2 separate regions of the Homo sapiens genome follow, and region 2 is linked to region 1. The links are contacts of gene promoters, found by promoter capture Hi-C in blood cells and fetal thymus (Javierre and others, 2016). All regions are on one chromosome and are shown on one strand. Each heading gives the region's core, a stretch centred on a gene start or on the middle of the fragment in contact. The rest is flanking DNA. Distances are from core to core; before and after follow the strand shown. Region 1 holds the start of KCNQ1OT1 (KCNQ1 opposite strand/antisense transcript 1). Region 2 has its middle 4.1 kb from the start of KCNQ1DN.

Region 1 (3,004 bases), core at 160-2,659:
CCAGTGCGAAGGGACAGGCGCCCAGGGGATGTGTCACTTGTGCCCAGATTGCCTGTGGGCTGAGCAGGAGGCAGGGAGTGGACTCATCTGGGCGTCGTTGCTGAAGGCCTGAAAGGAATCACTTGCTGCCTGAAAAAATGACACCATTTTCTCTTTCTCTTCTGGGCTGAAGAACAACAAAACCCCCAACCCGGTCACCCTTGGAGAGAGATTCCTGGCTCTCCCGTAGACGTATATTTTCGGCAGAGGCAGTGAAGATGAATGGCCTCCTTGCGTGCCTTGGTGGGGGGACGGCTGGCTCGCTTGGCTGGCTCCAGCCTCCCCCTTCCTCCTGTGTTTGAGGTCAACCCTGGGTTGGGGTTGTAACAACTTTCGAGAACATACCCAGAGTCCTGCATTCCAACACTGTTTTTGCAGTCCACATGGAAGGGCCAAACGGCCCCCAGCCTTGCCAGGGAAGCCTCAGGGTGTGAACTTCTAGAGGGGGCTTTTGTGACCCAGGCTTTTGTCCCCGGAGTTTATGGCAATGCTTGGCATTCAGAAGGCGCGCGCCAGCGGCGCGGAGGGGACGGACAAGGGGAGGGGCCGGCAGACGCGGTCAAGTGTCACGCCCGGATGGGGGATGGGAGGTGGGCAGGGCGGGCCCGGCCGGGCGCTGGCAGGCGCGGGGCGCCCTCGGCGCTGCCCTTTGCCAGGTGGGTGGCCTGGCATGTCCCGGCCACCCCTGCCACTCACCCCCTGAGGTCCCAAGTCCTCAGGGGTGAGCGGCAGACACGGGTGTTCCAGGCACAGCAGTGGGGGCTTCAGAACATCCCGATCCCCTGCATGGACCCGCTGGGAGGGGGGAAAACGCCTCCCGCACCCGGTGCCACGGCGGTGGAGACCTTGCCCGGGTTCGAGGGTCGCTGCAGCGGCGCCGGCGGAGGGGCTGGTCTCGGGCGTGGCCTGGACGCCCACAGGCCTCCACACCGAGGGCCCACAGCAGTGTCGGGGTGCGGCCGCTGTCCTCACGCGGTCACCCCGGGGTGGTGAACACATCACGCAGAGAACTGGCCCGTGTCTCCAGCTCACCCCGGCGATGCCAACGCTGAGGCTGGCGCTGGCCCCGGCCCCCGGTGGTGCTCAGGGACGACGGGTGGGGGCAGGGAGGGCGGCGGCTCGCGCCACCTCACACCCAGCCAGTGCCTCATGCGGCGCTGGACCCGCTGGGCCAATCTGAGCCCGGGTGGCATCAAAACGAGACTCTTTCGGCCAATGACAGGACACGGCACATCACTTTCCGCACCCAGCCAATCCGTGCAGCAGCCCGCCGCAAGCCTTCCCCTGCTGCCGCCCAATCAGCAGGTGGGGGGCGGTCGCCACGTCGGCAGCGGCGGGGGCAGTCGGAGCGCTGCCGCAGTCTCCAGGCAGAACGGTCGCCGCGTCGCCTCAGCACGGACCTCCAGGGAGCTCCTCAGCAAGATCCTGCCAGGGCGCCCCTCAGCGCGATTCTGCCGGGGTGCCTCTCAGCGTGGTCCTCCCCGGGGCTCCTCAGCACGATTCTCCCGGTGCGCCCCTCAGCGCGGTCCTCCTCGGTGCGTCAGTCATCGTGGTTCTCCCCGGCGCGCCCCTCGGCGCGGTTCTCCTCGGGGCTCCTCAGCGCGGCGCTCTTCTGGGGGCTCCTCGGCGCAGTTCTCCCCGGGGACTCCTCGGCGCCGTTCTCCTCGGGGCACCCGGGGCTTTTCGGCGCGGTTCTCCCCGGGGGTTCTTCGGCGCGGTTGTCCCCGGGGGTTCTTCGGCGCGGTTCTCTCCGGGGGCCTCTCGCCGCGGTTCTGTTCTCCCCGGGGGCTCCTCAGCATGGTTCTCCTCCGCGCGGTCCTCCCTGGGCCTCCTCAGCGCGGCACTCTCCTGGGGGCTCCTCAGCGCGGCACTCTCCCCGGGGGCTCCTCAGCGCGGCACTCTCCCGGCGGCTCCTCAGTGCGGTTCTCCCAGACTCTCCTCAGCGCGGCCCTCCCCATCTCTCTGGGAGGGTTTGAACACGGTCAGCACGGACCTGGGCGGACGGCGCGGGACGGGTGATCACTGGCGTTGCTGAGGTGAGCTGTGTGCCCCGCGGCCGTCCCAGATCACAGGCGTCAGCAGTGCAGCCTGGCCTGGGCAGTGCGCTCCCATCTGCACCTTATGGACAGCGTGGCCAGGGTCGAGGTCCGAGTTCCTGGCCGCGTCCCAAGGATCGGATTCCGGGTCTATAGTTCTCATGGTGGTTCAGAGTGGGCTGAATTGGGATTGGAGTCTGGAATCCGCATCGTGGTTCTGAGTCCGCGCTATTGGGATGGAAGTTGGGAATCCATGTTGTGGTTTTGAGTCAAAGCCCGAATTGGGACCGGAGTCGGAAATCCACTTAGTGGTTCTGAGTCAGGGCCCGAATTAGGATCGGAGGTGGGAATCCCCGTTGTGGTTCTGAGTTAGGTATCCTAGTTGGGATCAGAATTCGGGTCTAGGGTCCACATCCTGGCTGGGAGTTTGCCTGAGTTGGGATCTGAGTAGTTGGGGTCCCAGTCAGTCCGGGTCTGGAGTCCGCATGGTGGTTTTAGGTAGGGCCTCATTAGGGACAGAGGATCGGGAGTCTGAGTTGGGGACCTGAATCCCGGTCTGGAGTCTGCATCATGGCTCTGAGTTGAGATCCAAGGGAGGTCCGAGTTGGCGACTGGAGTCAGGGTCTGGAGTCTGTCTTTGGGTAGAGGTTCTGAATGGGGGGCTCTGAGTTAAGAGATTGGGATTGGGGTTAGAGGTCTCAGTGGGGTATGGGAGTCAGGAATTGAAGTCGAAGTTCTGCCTCTAGGTGGGGATTCTGAGTCAGGAATTAGGGGGCGAAGTAAAGGTTGCAGTCTGAGTTGGGGGTGGTGATCACCTGCCAGGTGAGAGGTAGTGGTAGAAGTCTCTTGGTCATATTGGAGATGAGAGTTGATCAGATGCAGGTCTCAGTCTGGGTAGTAGGCTTGAAGGGCCACCACTATGTTCAGAT
Region 2 (3,004 bases), core at 352-2,851, 170 kb before region 1:
GACACTGCATTCCCCCAACTGCAAATTCTTCCTCCGTGCAACTCACGCAAGTTTCATTCTTACAAATGCAATGTGGACAGGAAGATACAGCGTGGGTTCTTTCCCATCTTCAGTGTGGTGCACATCAGCTTTGCCCTGGAAAGTGTCCCTTTCCACTCATTCTAGAATAACAATGCTAGCTCCCAGGGAAGGCCCTGGGCTTTGCTTGAAAATGACACAAAACCACTGCTGGCCTCACGCCACCATCTGGCCAAGTGTCTTAAGAGACCATGCACCTGGGACAAATCCAGGACATCCTGTGTCCAGTGTCACACTTGGTGGACGGTCCCTGCATGTAGGGGACATCCCACGTTCACCTTGAAATCCTGACGGGTCAATATTTGCTGCTTCCTGGATCCTCCTGTGAGCCACTGATCCATTTTTGGGAGCTGAAATAGTAATCCAAGTGGAAATGCCTCACACGCACACGATAATGCACAGACACTGGGAGCCAGGCCAGCTGGGGAGCCCTGCCCGTGGTCTTAGCCACGCGGACTTACATTTGGGAATGCTACAACCTTCACTCCTATGGTCTGCGTGAACAAAAACCACTTATCCCCCTTCCCTTTGACACTGTCATCTGCCTGTGGCTACCTTCGGCATGATCCAATCCTTTGGGGGTGCCCCTGGCCAACCATTGGGTGGTACTGGGGTCTGTGGGCAGGGGTTCAAGTTAGAGGGTGGTTGCCTGGTGGCCCACATGCAGGAAACACACAGGGAGTTTGCATGGGCCCAGCTCATCCTTAGGCGACTGGAGCCCAGCTTGGAGCAGGTGGGGTGTTGGTTTAGGGTCTGCACTGGTGTTGTCTTTCTGATTGTCTCCAATTTGGGACTTCCTCCGTCTTGCTGGGGTCTGACTTCCCCTCACTGGTCCCTCTAAGGAGTGGGGCCTGTCTAGGGTGCAGAAGCCTCCCTGGGCCTCAATTTTCCCTCACTGAAAGGAGAACATAGGATCAGAGTCTCTGAGGGCCCATCTAGCTCGAATGTTCCTTGAGTGCTTGAGCGAAGCTTGCCCATGGTTTGAGATTTGTCCCAGAACCCCTTTTGGTTCCTTTAGACCCTTCTGCTCTAGCTGGGTGCTGATTCCATCCCTGTAGCCTGGCCTACATGCAGGCCTGGAAGACCTTAATTGGTCTGTCTGTGTAGGAGGGAGCCCCGGTCCCCACCGCCCAGTGCTCTGGGGGCTATTCACTTTAATGGTCATATAGTCACATGGGTTTTTATCATGCAACCTCAGCACTTCACTCTCAGTCCTGGGAAAAAGCACATGGTCTGGACAACAAGGCCTTACACCTGAGGGCTGTGGTGAAGCCGGAATTGCAGAGGGAGAAGTAAGGACACCTGAGACCTGGTGCTGGGTTTGACTATGTCCCCTCCAGAATTCGTGTCTGAAACTTACTGGCCAATGTGATAGTATTAATGTAAGTGGGAAGCTGGGCGCAGTAGCTCAAGCCTGTGATCTCAGCACTTTGGGAGGCTGAGGTGAGTGGATTGCTTGAGCCCAGGATTTTCAGACCAGCCTGGGCAATGTAGGGAGAACTTTTCTCTACAAAAAAAGAAATATTAGCCAGGTGTGGTGATGCGTGCTAGTCAGGAGGCTGAGATGGGAGGATCACTCAAGCCTGGGAGGTGGAGGTTGCAGTGAGCCATGACCGTGCCACTGTACCACAGCCTGGTTGACAGAGCCAGAGAGCCAGATCCTGTCAAAAAAAAAAAAAAAAAAAAAAAAAAAGGGCCAGGCACAGTGGCTCACGCCTGTAATCCTAGCACTTTGGGAGGTCGAAGTGGGCAGATCACCTGACGTCAGGAGTTTGAGACCAGCCTGGCCAACATGGTGAAACCCCATCTCTACTAAAAATACAAAAATTAACTGGGCATGGTGGTGGGCACCTGTTACCTAGGTACTTGGAAGTCTGAGGCAGGGAGAACTGCTTGAACCCAGGAGGTGGAGGTTGCAGTGAGCTGAGATGGTACGACTGTATTCCAGCCTGGGCAACAGAGCAAGACTGTGTCTCACAAAAAAAAAAAAAAAAAAAAAAAGAAGAGAGAAAGAAATAGGGCCTTTAGGAGGTATTTAAGCCTGAGGGTTCCTCCCTCTGAGTGAGATTAAAGCTTTTATAAAAGAGGCTTCCCAAAGCGTTCGCTTCACTTACAACACAGTGCCATCTTGGAAGCAGAGAGCCCTCACCAGACCCTGATTGCACTGGCACCTTGATCTTGGACTTCCCAGCCTCCAGAACGGTGAGAAATACATTTCTGTTATTTATAAATCACCCAGTCTCGTGGATCACCTGAGGTCAGGAGTTCAAGACCAGCCTGACCAACATGGAGAAACCCCATCTCTACTAAACCTAGAAAATTAGCCAGGCGCAGTGGCTCACACCTGTAATCCCAGCACTTTGGGAAGCCAAGGTGGGTGGATTACCTGAGGTCAGGAGTTCGAGACCAGCCTGACAAACATGGAGAAACCTCATCTCTACTAAAAATACAAAATTAGCCGGGTGTGGTGGCACATGCCTGTAATCCCAGCTAGTCAGGAGGCTGAGGCAGGAGAATCGCTTGAACCTGGGAGGCAGAGGTTGCAGTGAGCCAAGATCGTGCCATCACACTCCAATCTGGGCAGCAAGAGCAAAACCCCATCTCAAAAATAAATAAATAAATAAATAAATAAAAAATAGAAAATAAATCACCCAGTCTCAGGTATTTTGTTACTGTGGCACAAATGGACTGAGATACCTGGCATCTACCCTTGGAGGCTACCAGTAGGCCAAGGGCCAGCCAGGTGCCTCTGTGCAGGAGCCACGCTGCTCCCTGTTTCTCTTCCAGAGAGCACTGTATGGGGCTGACCCACCTCTGCAGCCAGGACAGACATGGCCTAGGTCCTGGTCCCTGTGGAGGAGTCTAGCTGTGGTTTTAAGGCAAAACTGGCCATGCGTGGTGGATCATGCCTGTAATCCCAGTACTT

Evidence for each region. Contacts are between HindIII fragments. The CHiCAGO score rates a contact against its expected background, and 5 or more counts as called.
Region 2: a fragment that was not itself captured here is called in contact with the fragment with the promoter of KCNQ1OT1 in region 1 in 3 of 17 cell types (M1 macrophages, M2 macrophages and erythroblasts); the score reaches 6.1 in M1 macrophages.

Annotation. Positions count from the first base shown.
Region 1 is chr11:2,698,399-2,701,402 of GRCh38, reverse strand. It overlaps KCNQ1OT1 (KCNQ1 opposite strand/antisense transcript 1), which reads left to right and starts at 1,409. Exons shown (of 1, transcript NR_002728.4): 1 at 1,409-3,004. The region is part of intron 11 of KCNQ1 (potassium voltage-gated channel subfamily Q member 1); the gene reads right to left. RefSeq lists silencers at 926-995, 1,006-1,275 and an enhancer at 1-1,208. The HindIII fragment of the contact is 24,274 bases long and covers 1-3,004 here.
Region 2 is chr11:2,872,608-2,875,611 of GRCh38, reverse strand. No RefSeq gene overlaps it. Among named protein-coding and RNA genes, the nearest start is that of KCNQ1DN, 4.1 kb to the right of the region's middle. The HindIII fragment of the contact is 1,104 bases long and covers 1,050-2,153 here.